Linked DNA regions of Homo sapiens: all the other regions are linked to region 1. The links are contacts of gene promoters, found by promoter capture Hi-C in human tissues and cell types (Jung and others, 2019). All regions are on one chromosome and are shown on one strand. The core of a region is centred on a gene start or on the middle of the fragment in contact, and the rest is flanking DNA. Distances in the headings are between cores, read along the strand shown.

Region 1 (4,547 bases), core at 1,529-4,028:
AGTAGGCTAACTTATTATATTCAGTAGGTTGGGTGTGTTAAATGCACTTTTGGCTTATATTTTCAACTTATGATGGGCTTATTAGGTTGTAACTCCTCGGAAGTTGAGGTGCATCTGTACTGAAAATAATGAAAAGCAGGGACTTGAACACATATTTGTATACCAATGTTCACAGCAGTATTATTCACAAATAGCCAAAAGGGAGAAACAACCCAAGATATCATTGATGAATGAATGGGCAGCAGAACATGCTATACACATACAAGGGAATATTATTCAGCTCAAAAGAGGAGGGAAATTCTGTTGCATACTACAATATGAATGAACCTTGAAGACATTATGTTGGTGAAAGAAGCTAAAAAATGCTACTGAATGAGCCCATAGGTACCTAAGGGTGCCTAAGGTGGCCAAATTCATAGAGACAAAGCATGGTGGTTGTCAGGGACAGGAGGGAGGAGAGAACGAGGAGCTAGTGTTTAATGGGTACAGATGAAAAAAGTTCTGGAGATGGATGGTGGTGACGGTTGCACAACAGTGAGTATGCACTAATGCCACTGAATTGTGTATTTAGAAATGGCGACCGGGCACAGTGGCTCATGCCTGTAATCCCAGCACTTTGTGAGGCTGAGACGGGAGGATCACCTGAGGTCAGGAGTTCGAGACCAGCCTGGCCAGCATGGCAAAACCCTGTCTCTACTAAAAAAAGTACAAAAATTAGCTGGGCGTGGTGGTGGGCGCCTGTAATCCCAGCTACTCAGGAGGCTGAGGTAGGAGGCGGAGGTTGCAGTGAGCTGAGATCGTGCCATTGCAGCCGGGCGCTGTGGCTCACTCCTGTAATCCCAGCACTTTGGGAGGCCGAGGCGGGTGGATCACGAGGTCAGCAGTTCAAGACCAGTCTGACCAACATGGTGAAACCCCGTCTCTACTAAAAATACAAAAATTAGCTGGGTATGGTGGCAGGTGCCTGTAATCCCAGCTACTCAGGAGGCTGAGGCAGAGAACTGCTTGAACCTGGGAGGCGGAGGTTGCAGTGAGCCGAGATTGCGCCACTGCACTCCAGCCTGGGCGACAGAGCGAGACTCCATCTCAAATAAATAAATAAATAAATAAATAAGTAAAATGGCTAAAATGGGCCGGGCATGGTGACTCATACTTGTAATCCCAGCACTATGAGAGGCCGAGGTGGGCAGATCACCTGAGGTCAGGAGTTTGAGACCAGCCTGGCCAACATGGTGAAACCCCGTCTCTACTAAAGATATAAAAATTAGCTGGGAGTGGTGGTGGGTGCCTGTAATCCCAGCTACTCAAGAGGCTGAGGCAGGAGAATTGCTTGAACCCAGGAGGCAGAGGTTGCAGTGAGCCGAGACTGCACCATTGCACTCCAGCATGAGTGGCAAGGGCGAAAAGTCTGTCCAAAAAAAAAAAAAAAAAAAAAGCAACAGCTTTTGGGCAATGATCTACCATTACTACACCTCCCTTCCCTTCATTTTCAAAAAAAATTTTCATGCATTTAACAAACATTATTAAGATTACATTCTTTCTTCTCATGTTAAGTCTTTGAAATCTGGGGTATATTTTATACTTAAAAGCATGTCTTAATTTGGACTAGACACATTTCAAGTGCTCAGTAGCTACACGTGGATAGTGGTCACTGTATTAGATGCATAGCACTAGTATGTCCCAAAATAACTGTTGAGGCTGGACACAGTGGCTTACACCTATAATCCCAGCACTCTGGGAGGTTGAAGTCAGAGGATCATTCCACGCTGCAGTGAGCTATGATCATGCCACTGCACTCCAGCCTGAGCCACAGAGCAAAACCCTGATTCAAAAAAAAAAAAAAAAAAAAAAACCCACACAAAATAACCCCCAAAAACGAATGGCTGGGCCCAACTAGGATTAACACTTGCCCTGCATTTACTTCTCTGGGTGCAGGTTGGGTAATGCAGAAGTGAATGATGGAAACTGAAGCGGCTTACCCATCAAAGGAAGAGCTAGTGCAGTCATATACCATCTCTCGGTTACCCTTCATTTGTAGATATGCATCACAATTGTCACAACCATCATATTCAAACTGGTCTATAGTCTGGGAGTGAAAGAAAAATAAAGGAAAAGGAGAGATAAGCATGAACAAGACCAAGAGAAAAAGTAGCTTTCTCAATACTTCGACCTGCTCAATTTCTTGTTTCCCTATGTTGACTGTGTATCCTAAGGTTCCCCACCTACTACTCTCAAAGCTTCATTCCTAAGTCCCACCCTCCCACTCCTTCCTCTCTCGTTCCCAATTCCGTTTTATCTATTCCTTTCTCTAGTCTACTCAGGGTCAGGCATCCTTTCCGACTACTCACTCAGCAGCGGATCCCCACCCGCCTCTGACTCCCAGTGTCTTTCGGCTCCAACGTAAGTTCACCGAACGTCTAAGAGCTGAGGATTCAAAGGCATGTAAGACCGCCCCTGCCCTCAGCTGCAAGACCTGTCCGCGATCCTACGAGGTAAACGATGGCCTCCTTCGGCTTCTCACTCCCCCTGCCACCTCTGAGTTCTGAGACTTAACTTTTCTCTTTACTGTCCCACAGCCCCATTCCGCCCTCTTTCCCCGACCTTGGTCCCCCATGGGCCCTACAACCAGGTCCCCGACTGACACCTTGACCAGCGAACACAGCAAACAGGCCCGCAGATGCCGCAGGTCCTTCGGCACCGTCTCCAGGGCCATCTTCGCCGATGGGAAGAACAACAGGGAGATAGACGACCACAGCCTGTGCACCCGCAGGAAGTAAATAGCTCGTTACCCAGAATGCCCACCACTTCCGGCGCTTAGACTTCCTCTTCCGGTGTGGGCGGACGCCAGCTCCGCCCCTACCCCCGCCAGAGGAGATGGTTTCTCCCGCCAGCAGGCGGGGAGGCTGGGCGGCCGGCCGCCACCTGGGCCGGAGCGCGTCGCAGCCACCTGAGCCCGCCGAGGGCGCGGCGGAGGCTGTGTGGGGTAGTCAGCGGGCCCCCGGGGCGGGGGGGCGGCTGCGCTTGCGCGGGAGTGTGTCGGGCTGAGCCGCAGCGCCGAGACGCGGGCTGTTTGATCTGGGCTGGTGGCCCTGGGCGTCGGTCCTGTTCCCCGATGGTAACCCGAAGTTTGTTTTTTTTTGTTTTGTCTCCCCGTTTTAGAAGCATTGGGGGCAGTGAATCCACTGTCTCCCTCTGGATTGTCTCTGCAGAGACCGAGAAGAAATCCAGGGACAGCCCCACCCCTCCTTCCTAACTGCGAGAGCGCTATAGGGTTTCCACTTGCTTCCCACAGGAATGCTGGCCTGGGAGCTACGGCGGAAAAAAATGCGTATTTATCTTTTAAAACTCCGTCTGTTTGCTCGTTCCGGCTGATAATTTATACTTTGCGCAGTTCTTAGCGCTTAGACACGGTTCCTTTACTAAAGACCATTTGTAGGAGATTAGGTGTCCTTTTTTTCCCTTTCATTTCACCGTCTAGGAAGCGAAATGCCTTGTTCTATAGGCACTAAACCACCACCCCTACCAAACCTTTCTCGGGGAAGCAGAAGGGGAACTTGTGCCTTGTGAGGAAGCGACAAAGGCCCCTTCTGGCCCTGGAGACTTCACGCCAATGGAGCACCAGCTCTCTGTCCTCGCAATAGCCCGAGTGCAGGCAGAACGCAGTCATTTGTGTTTATCTGAGAGGAGCTTTGGGATATAAATAGTTTCAGGCCCCGCTGCGCTGTCATTCCAGCCCAGCCTCCTGATTGAGCTGCTTCCGGGCGGGCTTTCTTCTTGTTGGCGGTCCCATGCTGTGTTCAGATGGGCTCTGTGACAGGTTTGGATGTTTTCTATCACTGAATAAAACTTTCCACTTTGGAACATATTTTCTACACTCTATTATCTCATGTAAGTCCTGCAACAACTATTAAGTAGGCCCATTTTATGGACTGAAAAAGCGAGGCACAGAGTATTTGCCCAAGGTCTGAGTCACTGAAGTATGATAATGTGTGAAGTGAACAGTATAATAATAATGACTGAAGCACAGTAAGAATCCAGTCATGCTTTCTCCTTCCCTGATCTCACTAAGCCACACTTTTAGGGGCTTACAAACCAGTTCTTATTGCCAAGCCCTCTACTCTACCCTATCCTTTCATGAATCGGAGCCTAGCCTCTGATAACATAAATAATTTACTTCTCTTGATGTAGAAAGAGATGACGTTGTTACCCTGAGTGACAGTCACGACAGAACAAAACCACAAGACCAGACCACATTTGTGGATAAATATATTAGCAAATAAATATATTTCTTAACATAGTGCCTGATTCAAGCGTCTGTCTGGTTCAGATATAAATACCCATGTGGGTACCTAGGTGCTAGTCTCCCCACTAACTGAGGGAAAAAGGTTCCCAGGTGGGGTCCTCTGCCCACTTTGCCACCACATTCACATTCCAAATGGGATAATGCCTGAGGGGCCAAGAGTGGTCAGGCTGCCCTGGGGTGAATGTCACCCTGATGAGGCCCATCAGCTCTTGTCCACTCAGTGAGGCCAGACTTGTGCTCTAAT
Region 2 (4,547 bases), core at 563-3,062, 370 kb before region 1:
CATTCAACAAAATTTTTTATTTGATCACAATAATGTACACTAAAAGTGAATGTTTATAGGCCGGGTGCAGTGGCTCATGCCTGTAATCCTAGCACTTTGGGAGGCCGAGGCAGGTGGACTGTCTGGGCTCAGGAGTTCGAGACCAGCCTGGGCAACACGGTGAAACGCCGTCTCTATGAAAATACAAAAAAAGTAGCAAAGGTAATCGGGCATGGCAGTGTGCACCTGTAATCCCAGTTACTTGGGAGGCTGAGGCAGGAGAATCGCTTGAACCCAGGAGGCGGAGGTTGCAGTGAGCCGAGATCGTGCCATTGCACTTCAGCCTGGGCAACAGTGTGAAGACTCCGTCTCAAAAAAAAAAAAAAAAAAAAACAAAAAAAACAGAAGTGAATGCTTATAAAGTACAACATACCAGTGTACTTACAAAGAAGTGTACTTACAAACCCAGTGTACTTACAAAGAAGTAAAAATGGATAGATTAACACACATTAAGCTTTCTTCCCCATTCTCTTGTGGCCACCTATTTTTTTGAGAATTTGATGTTTCTACTGCATAAAGTACATATATAATAGAATAAAGGATTAGGAAAATGCCTTCTTCTAGTGGTTAGGGCAATCTTAAAAGAAAAAGCCTGGGTAAATGCAAGTATTCTATCTTCAACTCTGAATTTAAGGCAAGCAAAGCATTTAAACCTTCAAGTGGATATGATATCTCATTTCTCTACAGATTTGGGTTTGAAAAGCAAGCTTATTAATACTGCTTTCACCTTAAAGGTTATTATTAGCTTATCAATGCTGTTTGCATACATGAAAGTAAAGCATAGTTCTGACATTAATATACTCTGTCCATTGTTGCCTGTTTGCACATGTTGGCAATAGGAGGAAACACGTAAGGTGAATATTAATACCTTTGATACAATATGAAAACATGCATATTTCACCCATCTGAAATATAAAAGAAAGAAAATCTGAAGCACCACCTACTTTTACTGATGCCTTGTTTACATGTATTACAGTTGATACTTTGGCTCTGCCCATGAGTCTTTAAGTGGCTGGTGATGTATGCTGCACTCAGGAGCTTCCCACAGATGTTACATGATACCTTGCCTTCATGGCGCACCATGTGTGTCCGCAGTCTGTCTTTGGTGGCAAAGGCAGCAGTGCACGTCTGCATGAGGGAGGAAAACTTTTTTTAAATATAGACTATCCTGTTCTACTCATTTTGAAGTACGTTATATTCTGTGCATTACCCTATCCACATCAGCAAGCTGACAACTAGTTGAATTTTAATTGCATATGTTACCTAGAATCATAATCATAATAAAACTCTTGATAAATTTTAGACTCTTCCATTTTGAAGGAAGAAAATACATCAACACAGAGTAGCACAAAAAATGTAAGCTTTAGGGTAAGTTAAACCTGGGTTTAAGTTGAGCTCCACAATTTACTAAATGGTGTAATGTTGAACAAGTTGGTTAACCTATCTGAAAGCTTCTTCATCTGTAAAATGGGGATAACATCTCTCACAAAATTACTGGTGGATTAAGAAAAGCCTGGTATACACAGCAGGCACTCACTCAATGACACTAGCTTCCTTCCTCCAATTAGATCTTTCTTAGCATTCAAATCATTTACTTAATAAAATCAGTCATTAACAAACTTAACTGAAAGGTGTACTAAAAGACTTCCAGCAACAAACTAAAATTACCAATGCCTAAAACAGTCATTTGATTTAGCAAAATTCTTAATGTTTTCGTTATTATAATTGATGTCAAATAAAATCATTAACTGGAATAGATTTTTAAACAACTAGAAAGTGTTCCAATTTGGTAATAACAAACAAAAATCTAGTAAGTGGTAACATTTGGGAGAAAAATTCATTATTTTCTCCTATTACAGTTAAAACAACTTCAATAATCAACCCAGAAATTAAAGCCCTTTATTCTTTTATTCATTTCAAATACACAACCACCTTTGCAAGACTGTAACTTTTTTTTCCTAACAAAAAATACTATTGCCCAAAGAAAGGGAAATATAGCTTAAAAAAAACAACACGCTTAAATTTTTAAATGATCTTGCTTTACAGAAACAGAAGCTGTCAGTTATATTTTATAAAACTAGAAGTCAAATGGGCCACATTTACTCAGGTCAGTGATTTTAAGACTATTCAAGAATGGTGAGATTCAACTGGCTCAGACCTTCTGGATAATGTGCATTAAGTGCTACACTAAGGATAAGTCATTTTAACTCTTACTTGGCATTTGAAGGGTCTTTCTGTTGAATGGACATGTTTTACATGACAGCTTAAGTGGTCAGGCCTGTGAAAAAGAGAGTTTCAACAGAAGATATAATCGAACACATAGAGAAATGCTACTTATGTGATGCTCACATGCTTGGCAGATTGGGAAGGGGTGCATTTTAGGGAAAGCTAGCAGAATTACCAACCTCCCTCCCCCGGTGCAAGTCTCCTTCCCTCTCTTACCATGAACAAAGTCTTAGGCCTCTACCTGTTAATTTTCTCTCCTAGTCAACATCAAATCATATTAGGTCTTGATTCTTTACAATTACAAAATACCCGAAGTTTTAGTCTTAACACTTGCCAGAAACAGCTACCACTATATTAACTCTAAAAGCTTTTATAAATGAAAATTAGTGAAATGTTGGTGCTCTCAGAAAAATGAAAAAACATTCTAAAAGTTTAATTAAGAGTATCCAAGGTCATCCCAACTTCCAAGAAATGTTACTTTAATTTGCCCAGTGAGCCTCATGTCTAGTCCCCCAACTGAACTGAAAACTGGTGGTTTTGCAGTGATAAGTATCCATGTGCCAAATGAAAGCCTGAGTCCACCGAGGCACTTGTTAAGTGAAAAAAACAGGTTAATCACTATGTCACCACTTGTCAATCACACCAAACTGAGGTTAGACCTGGAGGTGTTAATACTTATCTATCACCAATCTCCTCTAATAACACAGGTCTGCCCACATCTGTTCTCACATAAACATTCTAGATCACATGGAGACAAAACTGAAGTACACTGATACCATAATGAAGCAAAGCAAAGCAAAGCAAAATGCAGTACCTTGAGAAGCCTTTCCCACAAACACTGCAAGTATAGGGTTTGGTGATGCCTCCTTCATGAGACCTCACATGGTAAGTCATCCGGTCCTTCCTCTTGAAGCGCTGATTACAAATAGGACACTCAAAGGGTTTCTCATCTGAATGGGAGAGCTTGTGTCGATTGAGATGGTACACATCTCGGAAGGCCTTCCCACACATCTCACAAGCATGGTTCTTCTTGACAGGCTTACTGGGTTTCTTGACAGACTGGGTCACTGGCATAGCTGTGGTGCTGGCACTGCTACTGGGGTTGGTGCCCGAGGAAGATGTAGTGACTGTTGACAAGATGCCTGCAATGGTCGAGACCAACGAAGTTCGGCTGCTGTCCCCAGCGATGGTAGAGATAAGGGGAACCACCGTGGTGGGGGTTTTCTTTGGCCGGGACACCAACTTGATCCCTGTGTGGCAGGATTCGTGGCGCCTCAGGTGATAGCTGTCCCTGAAAGCTTTACTGCAGTAAGTGCACACAAATGAAGTTTTGGGTTTTTCTTTTTTAATCCCAATGGCATCCTTTAATGTTTCTGGTGCACCCTGAGGTTTCTGAGTTATTGGTATTGGAAGCAATGGTTTCTGATCAGGGGGCTCCACGGCAGAGCTCAGGAGGGGCAGCAAGCTGTTCTGTGCTGCCTGCTGTTGGTGATGGGAAGCTTCATGGGCCTAAAACCAAACATTTACACTTCAGAAACTCAGCCTCTCACAATGGCCTTCGAAATTCAACATGCTCCAGACAATAGAGACCAGAAGAAACAGTCAAAGAACCTATAAGCTACTCTGCAGTGGTAATCCAGCAACCACCTAGTTACTCTAAGAGCTCACAATACAAAGCATTGAAAAATCACTGTGCAGACACAAAACTTTTGCAACTAAGTTGCTGACAGTGATCTTGCTTTTAAACAGCTGACTAAACTACACACTATCCTGGTTCATAAGGGACAGACCAGCTGATGAAATCAGTTTGCATTAGTCTGTCAGCGCTGAAACCAAGTTTAAATAACTTACTTAAAAAAACCACTCCAGATTTAAGTATTTAATAGTACCTTACTGCAGCAATACACACATACACACTCACATACATGCAATAACACAATCATCTATTTGTCTATTATCCAGAAGAAAAGCATCATGTCTTTCTATCAGAAAACTCAGATTGAGGAAGGGGCTGTTGCTAAGTGATGAAAGAAATCTAGTTCTCTAAATACATTTGCTAGTCGTTAACGTTAAGTTTTCACTTGACTCTACTAAAAGGTTTGGTTGAAACAAAATCTGCTATGAAGCAACCTGGAAGGCATCTGTGAAGGCAGCCCATAGCAAACACCTGTCAGTTGTTTCTCAGGTCATTTAATTGTATACTGAAGTCTGCATCTTTCAGCAACACTATCTGTTCAAATCCCAAACTCTCAAAGACAGACTAATGAGAAAAACAAACTATA
Region 3 (4,547 bases), core at 1,126-3,625, 350 kb before region 1:
GAGGCCTCCCAACTGGAAAAAGCAGGCTGGCTTTAAAAAGCAACGTGATAGTAAAACAAGAATTTCTCACCACAAGATCTGGATTCAAGTTCTGGGCCTGCCCCTTTAACATCTCTGGGCCTATTTCTTCAAACTGCAAAATGAAACTAAATACTACGTGAGAATTAAAATGAGCCACAGTATCAGGACTGGGCGCAGTGGCTCATATCTGTAATCCCAGCACTTTAGGAAGCCAAGGTGGGAGGCCTGCTTAAGCCCAGGAGTTCAAAAAGTCTGAGAAACAGAGCAAGACCCTGTCTCTACAAAAAATATAAAAAAGGTAGCAAGGGTATAAACCTTTGAGGTTACTATTCTAAGAATATGCATGATCTGACTAAAGAACACAGTGTCTCAGATTTAAGCTATGTGGCACACCTGCCTAAGATTTCAATAATGTATTTATTCACAAACATTTATTAAGGTGCAGGTACTAGCATTCTGGACATCTTAGAAGAAATGTCAAAAAGTTTAAAACATAAGACTTTGGGGAGCCGGGCGCGGTGGCTTATGCCTGTAATCCCAGCACTTTGGGAGGCCGAAGCGGGCAGATCACGAGGTCAGGAGTTTGAGACCAGCCTGGCCAACATAGTGAAACCCTGTCTCTACTAAAAATACAAAAAATTAGCTAGGTGTGGTGGCAGGTGCCTGTAATCCCTGCTACTTGGGAGGCTGAGGCAGGAGAATCGCTTGAACCCAGGAGGTGGAGGTTGCAGTGAGCCGAGACTGCGCCACTGCACTCCAGCCCAGGTGACAGTGCAAGACACTGTCTTAAAAAAAAAAAAAAAAAAAACAGCCTTTGCTCTCAGTTTACTATGTAGCTGAAGAAAACAAAGCATACACATTAAACTAGAGAACAGCTTAAGGGCAACATGTCCACCTGCACATATAGCACTTTTTAAAACATGAAGAAAAGCAAATAAGAAACAACGCAATTAGTTCAAGAATGCTTCAGTCATTAGGTGTGATCATGAAGGGGTGAGATTTTTAATGGCAAAAGGAATGGGGCTGCTTATGGGATTTATGATGTGGGGTGTTAAAATGTATGGATGCTGGGTCTCTTGGTTTTGAGAGAATTGTTTAAGCTAGCTGATCCTATAAACCTAAAGACCAGGGTCAGGGTCCTAAAGTTAATGCTTAAGACTCCCAACCCAAGGAATAATATACATGCTATCTAGTCTCTTCACAATACATCGTTATGTATTAATCTCTTTATGAATAGTTACCAACAACAAAAAAACAACCAAAATGATTCCATCCCAAAGAGAAATATGCAGGAATTCTCATTGAGGCAATACCACTAAATTCTGAGGCAACTTAAAGCTTCCTCTGTAAGAAGCTTAAAAGAGAATGACTGAAAAAGGATACCTAGGAGGCAACTATTTAGTCTTTTTGGAGACAATGTCATCAATTCTTGGTGATCTGTACTGAAAGTGTGCACAGCTTACATCAAAACCACTTACTTTGGTCTTACAATTGGTCTTACTTTGCAAGACCAATTCTGGGAGCAACATTTACTTATCCAATTATACTTGGACTTAGGCTAGCATTTAGATTAATTCAAATTTTCTGGCTTCACATCTGAGGAGTTATTAGTATTAAAATACCTTCTCCAATAATCCACCCAGTTAACGAATAGCTTGTGAAACAGACTTCTACAGTGCTTTGCTTTTAGGGAATACTAAATTCTTCCCATCTCGCCCATCAATATTAAAACTGTCAGCACTGCATTTAGCTCATTGGGAAATATAAATATATTCAGTTCCTGGGTCTGTAGAGTTAAAAAATACATGTATTTACCAAATCAACCAGGGTAGGGGAAGATGTGATTGAGAACAGGATAAATTGGAAAGGTAGAATATAACCCATTGTTAACTCATATTAAGGGAGTGACATGTTTTAAGGATCTGGAGTCACTGAAACCAGCTTTAACACTTCAGTAATATGAATTTGGGTACAGACAAAAATGCTGATATGGCAACTGGAGATGGGAAGACAAATCCAAACAGCATCTTGAAGAACTCTATTTGGCAAGTAAACACATCTCTAGGTTAATCTAAATCATAGATGCGGTGGCACCCTGAAGACACAGAACTTGACTATCACCTTGCTGCAAATTTACTATTTTTAGAGTACAAAGGAGCCATTTGAGTTTTCTTTGGAATGTGCTTGTTACACTGCGAACCAACATTTTACATTTCTAGCCTTAAGTTGTGGATGTCAGCCAGGTGCGCTGGCTCACACCTGTATTCCCAGCACTTTGGGAGGCCGAGGCGGGCGGATCACTTGAGATCAGAAGTTCAGAGACCAGCTGAGCCAACATAGTGAAACCCTGTCTCTATGAAAAATACAAAAATTAGCCAGGTGTGGTGATGGGCACCTGTAATACCAGCTACTTGGGAGGCAGGAGAATCGCTTGAACCCGGGAGGCGGAGGTTGCAGTGAGCCGAGATTGTGCCACTACACTCCAGCCTGGGTGACAGAGTGAGACCCTGTGTCAAAAACAAAGACAAAAAAAATGTGAATGTCACTCTTGGTGTTATTTTATAGTTCAAATTTCTACCACCGTTAAGGGTAGAAGACATTCACCCAGCACTTCCCAGTCCTATCTAAAGGTTATACCTTCCCTTTTGCTTGACTGATCCTATAATCTTATGTATTAAGCCTTAATAATTGTTGAAAGCTTATCCCAAAATGACATATAAAGACTCCTCCTCTAATACACAGCACCTGAGGGAACAATTCTACCATGGTTTTTCTTAGCACTTTACAATCTCCAGGTTTAGCACTTTTCTTTCTACAAGGAGAATTCTGAATTTTCATTTGCCTAATTTGTGGCTTCAGAGTGCATCTTCAAAAGTTATTTAAAAATTATCAAAGGGACACCAGAGCTAACATTTACAGGATTAAAGACAGGCTTCAATCTAGTTAGTGCCCTTTCAGCTGTCAATCCAATTTGCAGCAAGACTACTAGTTAACAGTAACTACCTTCTGTAGCTTTCCTTGCTACTTAGTGTTACCTTAGCAGGCAGGGAAATCTCTACTGTGTAAACTTGATTACTTTTCCCCCCACAAGAAGTCCACTTTGTCCACTTTTAGTGCTTTATTCTTTGAAACAGACTGATTTTCTAAAATTAACATTTTAAGGCCAGTTGTCCCACACCTGTCTTCTGGATGACTAAATCCCATCATATGGGCCTAAAAGGTTTAGTATTCTCAATGACAATTTATACTGTAAACAGGAGACAAGTTTGTGTCCTTTCCATTTTTTATAAAAGAAACCTGGGGAGAAAGCGGTGATGGGAATGACAGATACTAAAAGTGTTAAATTTTCAGTAATTTTCAGCTGTTAATATGGCATTAACTACTGTGTCTACTGACTTTTTGATCACAAGACAACCTGCTACTTAAGTGAGGCCTAGAAAATAGAAAACAGCTAAGCTGACACATAAGTAGGATTTTAAGACAAACTTTAAGAACCTCTTAGTAATACTGAGAAGATCATCACACCTGAAACTGTCACTCCATAAAAGCAAACTGCAGGTCTCTAAAAGCATATTCATTTCTTCTAGTTCATAACCAAATTGTTATGTCTAGTTTTCCCCAGCACACCTAACTCCTGTTCCCAATTCTCACATTCATGGCCTTATTATTCCATACCTGATGTACAAGGTAGGCAGAAAAACAAGCAGACTTATGTCTTCAGTATTTTCTTAGTCCCAGAACCTAGATTTGTTACAAAATGAGTGCCTGTAAGGTAAACTCTGAAAACCTAAATGGATGCAAAAGCTGAAAAGGGGAAGAATTTTACACAAAAGATGGGAAGACAAAGGTAAAGTTGCAAGAAAACTTACCCAAACCATCTAACTTTAGAGCTGATACAGAGGATCAAGGTAGTTAGCTGGTCTCTACTTTGTTCTATGTATCTATAATGGGGATTATTTCCTGCTTAATTTTGTGTTATAGCTCCCTCTAGTGGCTAAGTGATTTTCCCTAGCACTTACCAATGGAGAGCAGTACAGCATGTTGTAAAAAAACCAAACAAACAAACAAAAAAAATTAAGACCTATTTCTACAAGTTGTTTTTGTTCAAAGTGCATTTGGTGGAGATGAGTATAGCATCCTAGAGAAGCTGTTTCCACTATCTTCATGTCCACAGTTCTACCAATAGTTGGCACTTATAAGTTGTCTGGTAACAGAAGTCTGATGCTTTTTAACCCGATGCTTGAGTATCAAGCTGAACTAAGTGTTGTTTTGCTTACCTAAACAGTAAACTTCTTATGAAAAGTCATGAATGACTTTTCACCCCCTGAAATCCCAGCCTAGCACCTATTAAAATGTTGTAAATTACAAATGTTATATTTGCCTAAATTAACTTCTATATGACAGAGTCATTTATTCAATTTTTATTCTGTGCATTAATGAAGCACGGAGTGATTTTTATAATAATTAAAAAATCCTTCCTTTAATCACTACAAGCTCACAAGAACCCTCAGGGTTGTTAGGCATTA

Evidence for each region. Contacts are between HindIII fragments. The study calls those that stand out against the background at their distance.
Region 2: a fragment that was not itself captured here is called in contact with the fragment with the promoter of SUPT4H1 in region 1 in 1 of the 25 tissues and cell types used here (dorsolateral prefrontal cortex).
Region 3: a contact is called between a fragment that was not itself captured here and the fragment with the promoter of SUPT4H1 in region 1, in 1 of the 25 tissues and cell types used here (hippocampus).

The regions. Positions count from the first base shown.
Region 1 is chr17:58,349,423-58,353,969 of GRCh38, forward strand. SUPT4H1 (SPT4 homolog, DSIF elongation factor subunit) reads right to left here and starts at 2,779. Exons shown (of 5, transcript NM_003168.3): 1 at 2,645-2,779; 2 at 1,980-2,086. The coding sequence starts at 2,713. TSPOAP1-AS1 (TSPOAP1, SUPT4H1 and RNF43 antisense RNA 1) reads left to right here. Exons shown (of 5, transcript NR_038410.1): 4 at 2,322-2,492; 5 at 2,577-4,305. It overlaps RNF43 (ring finger protein 43), which reads right to left. Exons shown (of 10, transcript NM_017763.6): 10 at 4,254-4,547. RefSeq lists silencers at 2,353-2,462, 2,743-3,172 and an enhancer at 3,560-4,095. The HindIII fragment of the contact is 5,411 bases long and covers 62-4,547 here.
Region 2 is chr17:57,979,620-57,984,166 of GRCh38, forward strand. It overlaps VEZF1 (vascular endothelial zinc finger 1), which reads right to left. Exons shown (of 6, transcript NM_007146.3): 2 at 3,080-3,774; 3 at 2,254-2,317; 4 at 984-1,167. Among named protein-coding and RNA genes, the nearest start is that of VEZF1, 6.4 kb to the right of the region's middle. The HindIII fragment of the contact is 6,153 bases long and covers 1-4,547 here.
Region 3 is chr17:57,995,675-58,000,221 of GRCh38, forward strand. It overlaps a transcript of SRSF1 not described here. Among named protein-coding and RNA genes, the nearest start is that of SRSF1, 9.3 kb to the right of the region's middle. RefSeq lists an enhancer at 1-50. The HindIII fragment of the contact is 5,520 bases long and covers 1-4,547 here.